Linked DNA regions of Homo sapiens: region 2 is linked to region 1. The links are contacts of gene promoters, found by promoter capture Hi-C in blood cells and fetal thymus (Javierre and others, 2016). All regions are on one chromosome and are shown on one strand. Each heading gives the region's core, a stretch centred on a gene start or on the middle of the fragment in contact. The rest is flanking DNA. Distances are from core to core; before and after follow the strand shown.

Region 1 (5,394 bases), core at 2,047-4,546:
TGGGGCCAGCTACTCAGTGGGGTGAGAGGCAAGGAAGCTTCCATTTGAACTGAGAATGGGAAGGGAAGAGAGATAGGGAGAGGAGAAGGACCTAGTCTGTGGGGGGCGATTGGAGGCAGAAGAGTTGGGGGAGGGCTGAGGGGAGAAGATGGCCCACTGTTCTTCAACCCCATGTAGGACCAGAGTGGGAAAGACGTAATGAGCATGAAGCCCAGTGAGGAGCCACGAGGGGAAAGGCCTGGGAAATTGAAGCATCTCCTTCCCTTGAGTCAGCATGATTTCAGATGTTCTCAGTCTCCTCCCCTGACATGTTCCTCTCCGGTCCTCAAAGGCTGCAGCAAAAGTATAGTAATAAACTCCAGACCCAGACCAACTGGGTTCAAAATTTGGCCGAGCGCGGTGGCTCACGCCTGTAATCACGCCTATAAACTTTGAGAGGCTGAGGTGGGTGGATCATTTGAGGTCAGGAGTTCAAGACTGGCCTGGCCAACATGGCGAAACCTCATCTCTACTAAAAATACAAAAAGTAGCTGGGCCTGGTGGCACATGCCTGTAATTAATCCCAGCTACTTGGGAGGCTGAGGCAGGAGAATCACTTGAGGGTGGAGGTTGCAGTGAGCTGAGATCACACCACTGCACTCCAGCCTGGGCAACAGAGTGAGACTCAGTCTAAAAACAAAAACAAAAACAAAAAAATCCACACGAAATCTGACACTATCATCCCCATTTTAATGTTGGGAAACTGAGGCCCAGAGAGGTGAGTTGACTTGCTCAAGTTAAAATAGAAAGTGCAGAGATGGCTTCTCATCTAATCCAAAACTTTTACATATTTTTTAGTGGAACCTTCTTTTCTTTATCAAGAGGTAAACCACATAGGGTGGGAGTGTCTGAGCCCTCTGCAAGGATGTAAGAACTCAGGAGTGTGCAAGGACCTCCTTTTTATTCATACAGAGGCTGAATTTTAGGAAAAACCCACTTAACCCAGCCAGGTGTTTGGCTCTGAGCCGTAACAGGTGTGTGGCAGTCCCTTTTATGGCCACATGAGGTCAGCATTGAGTCACCCACTGGCCCCACTACCAGAGCTTGCACTCTTGACAGGAATCCTTTCCAACACTCCAGGAATGGGGAGGGGGACCATTGCAGTGTTATCTGAAAGGGTGACCTGGGGACTTTGACTTAGGCCACAGCATGGCTAGGGACCTGACCTCGCCTCCTCAGCTCCAGTCTTCTCTGAGGCTGGGCCCCTCGTCTTTCTCTCTGTTGTTTTCTGGTTCCCTTTGTGCCCCCACTCCCCACCTCCACCCACCCCAGCTAGGCTCATCTTCAGGAAACAGGCCTGGTTTCCATGGTGACCAGCCGGTCAGCTGGCTCCTTCCACCGCCCCCTCCTTCACCCCCCTTTCTTGTAGCTTCCAGGGAAGGGTACTGTGTGTGAATGGAGAAGGCAGGGGTAGCCTTTTGTCTCTTGGGAGCTCTAGCATTGGCCAAAAAGAGCTAAACTGTCCCTCCTCCAAAGCCCTTTGAAGTGGAGACAGGAAGGCAGTGGGGGTGGGTGTCAAGAGGAAGATTATGGTGCCTAAATGGGGAGCACGAAAGGATCCTCTGTGGGTTTGGAAAGGCCAAGGTTAGGGGCTCTGCTCTCTGTGGGGGAAGGGGTTGAAACTGGAACAAGAGGGGCTGGAGTTAGCTGTGAGGCCAGCTTCCCAAAAAGCATGGGCAGGAGATGCTGGAATGAACCACCAAGTGAGATTCTGCCTCTGCCAAGGGAGTGAACCAGACCCCCGCCTCTTCTGGACAGCCGCCTTCCTCTGGGCAGGGAGAATGGACCCATCAACCTGGAGAGGACCATGCAGGCTGGATAGCTCTAAGCAATAGGTGGACAGAGAGCCACCTTCACCTCACCTGGAAAGGGAAGAGTAGTAAAATGAAGGCAGGGCCAGGAGTGGGACTAGAGGGGTGGGAGCAGTGGCTCTCCTGTCCCCAACAAGGGGAAGGAACATCCTGGGCAGATCAGTGTGTTTGTACCCTATCCCCCAAAATCAGACATCGAGGCTTTGCCCCAAACTAACTTCCTACCCACAAATATTCCCCATAGATTTTGAGTGGGAAAGATCTGAATTCTAGGACTAGCTCTGTGAGTGCTAGCAGGTGACCTTGAGTAAGCCATTCACTCTCCCTCTGCCTTGGTTCCCTGTGAGTAATTGGGGAGAACAGTTACTGTATGTCAAAGACTCTAATGACACATAGTAGGATTCCACAGTGACTGTGTATGCACAAGATTGATCATGCATGGCTTTTATTATATTCTTCATAATGGTTGTTTTTCATGTTCTTTTCTCCCCATTAGACTTTGTGCTCCTTGCAGGAAGGAAACTGTGTTTCATTTCTGTACTGGGCACACAATAGGTACCCAACACCTGTTTACTGAATGGAGACATCCAGAAATGAATGAATGAATAAATGTCAGGGTCCTTCCTGCTGTGCCAGGGGATACAGGGAAAAGCAGTGTGGGGTGGATGGCCTGAAAGGATAGGCTGCCTGCAGTGGCTCAGCCTGGCTTGCTTCCTACACCTACAAGTCAGAGCCTTAGAAATTGTCCAGTCAACTTCCTCACTGCACAGATGAAGAAATTAAGGCTCAGAGACAGGAAGGCACTTGCCCAAGGTCACATAACTCCTTAATGACAGATACAGAATTCAGAATTAGAACTCAGGTTTCCTGCCCTCCAGCCTAGGGTATTGCACACACTTCACTGCTTCTCTGGAGCTGTTCTTTTAGGGAAGAAAGATGGTTCAGTGAAGGCCGGTTCCAATGCCCTCCCCTCTGCCCTCTGTTAGTCCTTTCCCACATCTAGCTTCAATCTCTTCCCTTTCCCCCTATTCCATTCCTCTGGAAGTCTAGCTTCTGCCTTAACCCTTCACCACGAAACTGGGAGTAAGGATCTTCCCTAGGGTTCCAAGAATCAATTTCCTCTCCCCACTCCTCTGCCCTGGGAACTTGGGGGAACCAGAGATGTGTGTGTGTGTGGGGGGGTGCTGTTGGTTGAACCTCGGGCACCGAGTCCACGGAGAACAGATGGAGAGGGGTTGCGGCACAGATTCTCCCAGGATAGGAGCGCGGGAGGGAGGTGCAGTGAGCAGGGCTGGGAGCGGGGAAGAGGTGTGGGGAGTCCCTGTTGCTTTACCCCTTCGGGGGGTGGTTATTAGGTAGGCTTGGGAAGGCGGAGTTTGGGGGGCTGGGGGCGGGGCTCGGCTGCGCTGGCAGGAAAGGGGGGGCGCGCTGGCTCCAGCTCGGCTCAGACAAAAGGCGGCGGCGGGAGCGGGCGGGAGGCGGAGCGGCGCCGCGAGGGCCTCAAGGTGACACCCGCCCCCGGCCCCGGCCCCCCCCGGCCCGGCCCCCCAGCCTGCCTCCCACCCTCAGCCCCCAGCCCCTTACTCCCGGTGCCCTTTCCGGGCCCCCTCCCCCGGCGGGGGGTGGGGAGCAGCGAGGGCCCCGCCCCCTCCCGTCCTCTCCCCAGGGCCCGCGCAGGATGCCCCCGGCCCCTGGCAGCCCCCCGGGAGGTCCTGAGCTCGACGCGCCCCCTCTACGCCATGTCCCCCCCTGGCTCGGCCGCGGGAGAGAGCGCCGCCGGCGGCGGCGGCGGCGGTGGCGGCCCCGGGGTCTCGGAGGAGCTCACGGCGGCGGCGGCAGCGGCGGCGGCGGACGAGGGCCCCGCCCGAGAGGAGGTGAGAGTCTAGGGCGCCCCTTCCCCGGGCGCGGCCGCAGCCTGGCCCCCCATCCCCCATCGCACGCGTCCCCCGCTGGTTCCGCCGCAGCGCGGCCGGCGCCCCGCACCCCGAGCCGGCCGCTGCAGCCGCAGTCCGCGCCGCCGCCCCCACCCGGCGGCCGGAGCTGTCCGCGGTGCCGGGGAAGGGGCCGCGCCGGGGGCGGGGCTCAGGGGTCCCGGGCAGGGGGAGGGGCCTAGGGGCGGAGCCTCGCGGATCCTGGGCTTATGAGAGTGGGGGCTATGCTCTACCGGGGTGGGGACGGTGGCGGGGATCCTGTCTCACAGAGGAGGATGCTACCTTGAAGGCCAGGAAGGGCGGCTTGTACGGGCTACAGAACGAGGAGGGTACCATGGGGAAGTGGTGGTGGTACCTGATCTGGGACCCTAAGGAGGTCAGATGTGTACGGGGGGTCCCGCCTGTGGTCATTGGGAGTGTGTGTGTGTGTGTGTGGGGGGGGGTGTGCACCTCTCTCTCACGAGGCTCCTGCTGCTTCCTCATATCCCTAGTTGGGGTCCCTAGTACTCAGTCCTCTGAACCTGAAGACAAAGAGACGGAGGAAAGTACCAGGAGCACCCCCACTCCAGCCTCCCATGCACACTTGTGCACACGCATGCACCCTGTACTAGGGCAGAGGCACACAAGCGGGGATGGGCCTGCAGGTAAAGCCCCTTTCAGAGGTACCCACATGGGGACAAGCACATAACCAGGTAGGCACACGAAGGGGCCCGTATGTTCATACCTCCTAAGGACAAGGCTCCCCGAAAGGCACATGTACCCTAATCTCCTTGTCCACATGTACTGTGTGCTATTTCCTAGCTCGCCTAACTATCCATACTTCTAGATCCAGGGACCGATGCCTATTACTGTACCCTTCTTTTCCACTCTTTTCCTCTCTTTCCTGGCTGGCCTCTAGGTCAGGCCTGAGGAATTGAGGGGGTAAGTCAGGATCCCAGCAGGAGGTTGTGTGTGTGTGTGTGTGTGTGTGTGTGGTGGGGGATGGGTTCCTAAAGCTAGACAGCACAGAGGAGGGGTGGGAAAACAGAGGCCACTACAAGAAATTAAACTCAACACTCAATTAGGATGTGGCTGCTGGGGGCCAGCACCATGGTAGGCACCTAGGATGCAAAGAGAATGAAGCATGGGCCCTCAGGAGTACCCAGTGTAGTGGGGAGCCAGACATGTAAACAACTCCTGGGCCAACCCTGGGACAGAATGTGCCAGGAGCTTTAACAGACAGGCTCCAGGAGAGTACCAAAAATAATTTTCTCTTGATAAATTGCTGGGCTTCAAACGTTGTCCTCGCTACCCCAGTCCCACATCCCCTATGCCTGTCCTCTCCTCAGCCACATGCCTCTGCCCTTCTGGATACCTCCTCCTGGACTGCCTGCCGCTCAGGGACCCCAGCCCCCTCCCTCCCATCCTAGGACAAAGGGAAGGATGTCAGGGTGCAGGAGGGAGACTCACAGGGGAACCAGGGTCCAGAACATGGGGAATGAGACTGGGCCTGGGGTTCTCTGGAGGCCCTTATCCAAAGGACGTGTTAGGCTAATTGTGAGGGTTAGGGAGGTGGATGGGTCAGAGGGGAGTAGCTCCTCTAGAACCTAGGACTGAAAAAAATCTGGAAGTGA
Region 2 (5,394 bases), core at 1,093-3,592, 77 kb after region 1:
ATCAGACAAGCTTTCCCCATTATAGTGGCCACAGGCCACTTTCTAGAGTGCTGCTGCCACAAAACTTTTCAAGCAAGCAAGGAAGTGTGCTAAAGTTTTAGGTGTGTTTCACTGCTCGCTGCTTAGGGAAATGCAGTACATTTACATTTTGTTCCTAACACAAACAAAAAGCTTGGGAAAGGACCCTCTCTGATACCATCCATAGAGCCAACCAATTCTTGCTTGGGTGAACTCTCAAGTCCTATAGTGGCAATATACAACTAAAATGTTTACATGCTATGAAAGGCAGCCACTGTTAAAACCTATGGCCAAAAATTACCATAAGTAAATCTTACTGTAAATACCTCAGAACTCACATGCAATTATTGACATAGAGGACATCTTTGGCCTTGATTTCATTTCATTCACATATGTGAATCCATTCTACATCTCCAAACATGCATTTCATGGCTTTTTCATAGATACATTTCTAGATGTAGAACTATTGAGTCAAATGACATGCACTTCTCATAGGCTTCGGAAGTCACATATGGCCAAATTGCTCTTCAGTAAGATGGGGACATTCCCACCAGCAATGATAGGAATGCCATTCCTCCAAGCTGTGCCAAACACCTGGGTGTTTGCAAACGGATAACAAATAATGGCATCTCATTTTAAATTCGGTTCTTCAATTATTTGGATGGGGCCACGTACAGTGTCTCATGCCTGTAATCCCAGCACTTTTGAGGTGGGTGGATCACTTGAGCTCAGGAGTTTGAGAGCAGCCTGGGCAACATGGTGAGACCCCATCTCTACAAAAAATACAACAACAACAAAAAAATAGCTGGACATGCTGGTGTGTGCCCATGGTCCCAGCTACTTGGGAGGCTGGGGTGGGAGCATCACTTGAGTCCTAGGGGCAGAGGTTGCAGTGAACCGAGATCACTCCAGCCTGGGTGACAGAACAAGACCCTGTCTCAAAAAAAAAAACAAACCCACAAAATAACCACCCACTCCCCCAAACCCAATTATTAGGATGGATGAAATTTCCCCCAAATACATATTGGCTATATGTATGTGTTATTTTATTTTATCTTATTCTGAGATGGGGTCTCACTCTGTCACCCAGGTTGGAGTGCAGTGGTATGATCAGGGCTCACTGCAGACTCGACCTCTCCAGCTCAAGCAGTCCTCATGTCAGCCTCTCAAGTAGCTGGGACCACAGGTGTGCAACACCACGCCCAGCTAACTTTTTAGTTTTTTGTAGAGACCAGGTCTCCATATGTTGCCTAGGCTGGTCTTGAACTCCTAGCTTCAAGCAGTCTACCTGCCGCAGCCTCCCGAAGTGCTGAGATTGCAGGCATAAGCCACCTTGTCCAGCCTGTTTTTAAAAATAAGTTACCTGATCACATCTTTTGCCCTTTTTTTTTCTTTTTGGATATTTATTTTCATCTTATAAATTTATAAAAGCTCAAGGAGTGTAAATTAGTTCAACCATTGTGGAAGACAGTGTGGCAATTCCTCAAGGATCTAGAACTAGAAATACCATTTGACCCAGCAATCCCATTACTGGGTATGTACCCAAAGGATTATAAATCATTCTACTGTAAAGACACATGTACACGTATGTTTATTGCGGCACTGTTCACATAGCAAAGACTTGGAACCAACCCAAATGTCCATCAATGATAGACTGGATAGAGAAAACGTGGCACATATACACCATGGAATACTATGCAGCCATAAAAAAGGATGAGTTCATGTCCTTTGCAGGGACATAGATGAAGCTGGAAACCCTCATTCTCACCAAACTAACGCAAAAATGGAAAACCAAACACTGCATGTTCTTACTTATAAGTGGGAGTTGAACAATGAGAACACATGGACACAGGGAGGGGAATATCACACACTGGGGCCTGTCGTGGGGTTGGGGGAGGGGAGAAGGATAGCATTAGGAGAAATACCTAATGTAGACGACGGGTTGATGGGTGCAGCAAACTACCGTGGCATGTGTATAACTATGTAACAAACCTGTACGTTTTACACATGTACCTCAGAACTTAAAGTATAAAAAAAAAGCTCATAATTTGTCATGACTACTCACTCTTTTTTCTTTCTATCATGTTGTTATAGATTTTCCCCCAGTTTATAGTTTGCTATGAAAGTTTTAAGTTTATATTTAAAGAGGCATATTCAAATCTATGCCTCTTTTCCTTTATTTTGCCTGTATTTGGTATCTTCTTGGCAATAACTTCTTCACTCTAAGATTATATAAACTTTCACTTACTTTTTTCGGGTACATCTTTAATTTCAATTTTTACATTCAAATCTGTGAGTCATCTGGATTTTCCAGTTTGGGATAAGAAAGGATTAATTTTATTTTTATTCCAAATGGTTAATTAGTTGTTCCAGCAATATTTTTTGAATAACCCATCCTTTCTTCACCAAGATAAAATGCCACTTGTTTTCATATACAATTTTATTCTATTTATGTTTACTATTTTGTTCTATTGATTTGTCTGTTAGGGTTTTTGTCAGTACTGTCTTGATTATTTGAACATTAGACTACATTTTATAAATTATACTCCATGGCTATGTAACCCTGAACAAGTTATTTGACATTTCTGGAGCTTAATTTCTTTATCTGTAAATTTATCTCTATTTTATTTATAATTATGGCCTTGTTTCATTTCTATTATTATTATTATTTTTGTTTTTTTTTTGGGATGGAGTCTCACTCTGTTGCTCAGGCTGTAGTGCAGTGTGGCATGATCTCAGGTCACTGTAACCCCCGCCTCCTGGGATCAAGCGATTCTCCTGCCTCAGCCTCCTGAGTAACGGGGATTACAGGCGTGCACCACCATGCCCGGCTGATTTTTGTATTTTTGGTAGAGACGGAGTTTCACCATGTTGGGCCAGGCAGTCTTGAACTCCTGACCTCAGGTGATCCACCTGCCTTGGCCTCCCAAAGTGCTGGGATTACAGTCCAGGCTCTAATATTATTTATTTGTGTTTAAAATTTTTTCTTGAACCTTGTTTATCTGCATTATCAGCTTTTGCATGAAGCCATAGTTCTGATAATCTTTATTTCATTCATTTCTGCTTTTATGATTTTATTCCTTAAAATCTTTTCGGGGGGAGAGGGGTTACTCTTTTTTTTTTCTTATTTCTTAAATTGACAACTTGGCTCATTCATTTTGGAATTTTTGATTTTGAACACTATAATCCATCAATTCTTGGATAGACAGTTTGCATCTTTGAAGTAGGGACTGGATGTTACCAGGTCTGTGGGCCCAGCAGCAGGTAGGATGTAGTTGTAATAATTTTTGCTGTATGAGCACTGAAGCATGTAGAACGTGTGTTCATAGCTTGGAAAAAACTCCAGAGACAGTAGAGAAGCACTTTTGCGCGGTGGCTCACGCCTGTAATACCAGCACTTTGGGAGGCCAAGGCAGGCAGATCATGAGGTCAGGAGTTCGAGACCAGCCTGGCTAAGAGACCAGCCTGGCCAATATGTTGAAACCTCATCTCTACTAAAAATACAAAAATTGGTCCTGGCGCCACTGCGCCTGTAATCCCAGCACTTTGGGAGGCTGAGATGGGTGGGTGACCTGAGGTGTGGCGTTTGAGACCAGCTTGGCCAACATGGTGAAACCCCGTCTCTACTAAAAATACAAAAATTAGCCAGGCATGATGGTGGGCACCTGTAATCCCAGCTACTCGGGAGGCTGAGACAGGAGAATCGCTTGAACCCAAGAGGCGGAGGTTGCAGTGAGCTGAGATTGCACTACTGCACTCCAGCCGGGGGGACAGAGCGAGACTCTGTCTCCAAGAAATGAATAAATAAATAAGCTGGGTGTGGTGGCATGCACCTGTAATCCCAGCTACTCGGGAGGCTGAGGCAGGAGAATTGCTTGAACCCTGGAGTTGGAGGTTGCAGTGAGCCGAGATTATGCCATTGCACTCCAGCCTGGGCGACTCTGGCTCAAAAAAAAAAAAAAAAAAAAAAAAGAAAGAAATGCTGCATCACTCAACTCACATTTTTATTGAAATATTAGGTCAGTATTAGGTGGAAAGTGTGGACAATAGTGATTGAGTTGAAAGTGGTTTAGTAGTCAGATTTCTGAATGTGCATAAGATTTAGGAATGCCTTAACCAGTCTATTGTGCTTATATTTTCCTTCTTTATATATGTGCATGAGTGATATGTGATTAAAATCTATAAATAAATTAAAAGAATGCATCAATAAGTATAAAATAAAAATTCTAAGTGATAAAAGCATGTATCATACTTTAATTGGCAGCCTTTGTTCTTTGTGATACATAAAATAACGATGCTATTACAATTGATGGTGCCTTATATTCAGTGAAATACAGCATATGCATTCAAGGCCCCAGATTTCTAATTACTGCTTTAGTTGAATCCCACAAGTTTTGATATATAGTACTCAATGTTCATTGATCATTAAGCAACTCATGATTTCCATTACAATTTCTTCTTGTATGTGAATTATTTAGAAGTGTGGTTTGAGTTTCCAAGCTTATGGATACTTTTTGGCTGTCTTTTTATTATTGATTTCTAATTGTATTGCATTGTGGTCAGAGAGTGTGGTCTATGTATTGTTGATACTTGTTTTGTGGCTTGGTATATGGGTGGTTCTTCCTTTGGTTACTGGGGACCCGTCTCCTCATCCTCACCTGCTGCTTGCCTGCCACCTCCCCTGGGCTTGACTCCATCCCAGTTACACCTCAAGCAACCAGTTGGACCTCACTGTGCTGGGGGCTGCTCTAGGCTCTAGGGCATATTCCAGAGCAGCACTTCCCACACTTGGCTGACCCTAAGAATCACCTGAGGTGCTTCTTAAATATCCTGGCTCCCAGACTGTAGGTCTGAGTCAGAGCCCTGGGGCCTGCATATTGAACAAGTACCCCAAGGGGATTCTCGTGACTGGGCAAATTCAGGAAGTTCTGTGCAGTTGGGAATCTGGAAGTGGAACTGGATAAAATACAGTGCAGTGATGGAACTAGACTTCAAGAAGGAGATTACTGCCAAACGTGAGCCTAAATGAAGAGCAGGGGTGAGGGTGGGGGCTTATTTAAAATGCAGGTTCCCAGGCCTCACTTGGAGAGATTCTAATTCAATAGGTCTGCGATGGAATTTGAGAATCTGTATTTTTAACAGGCTTCCTGGGTAATTCTGATGCAGATAGGCCTTGCGCCATGTCCTGAGAAGCCCCAGAGTGGGAGGATTTTGAAGGGAGGGAGTAGCTCAGCTGAACTTTAAGCTTTGTAGAGTAACAGGCAAAGTCCTCTTAGGAGTGAAAGGTTTGGTGATAGATCGGGACTTGATAAGAATGGAAAAGGTATTATTCACTTGTGATATGAATTTGAGAGGAAATGAATAAAAAATTCTCTG

The links. Contacts are between HindIII fragments. The CHiCAGO score rates a contact against its expected background, and 5 or more counts as called.
Region 2: a fragment that was not itself captured here is called in contact with the fragment with the promoter of TMEM151B in region 1 in 1 of 17 cell types (M2 macrophages); the score reaches 5.1 in M2 macrophages.

What each region holds. Positions count from the first base shown.
Region 1 is chr6:44,267,154-44,272,547 of GRCh38, forward strand. It overlaps TMEM151B (transmembrane protein 151B), which reads left to right and starts at 3,297. Exons shown (of 3, transcript NM_001137560.2): 1 at 3,297-3,724. The coding sequence starts at 3,590. The HindIII fragment of the contact is 13,529 bases long and covers 36-5,394 here.
Region 2 is chr6:44,345,323-44,350,716 of GRCh38, forward strand. The region is part of intron 2 of SPATS1 (spermatogenesis associated serine rich 1); the gene reads left to right. Among named protein-coding and RNA genes, the nearest start is that of SPATS1, 5.4 kb to the left of the region's middle. The HindIII fragment of the contact is 4,347 bases long and covers 170-4,516 here.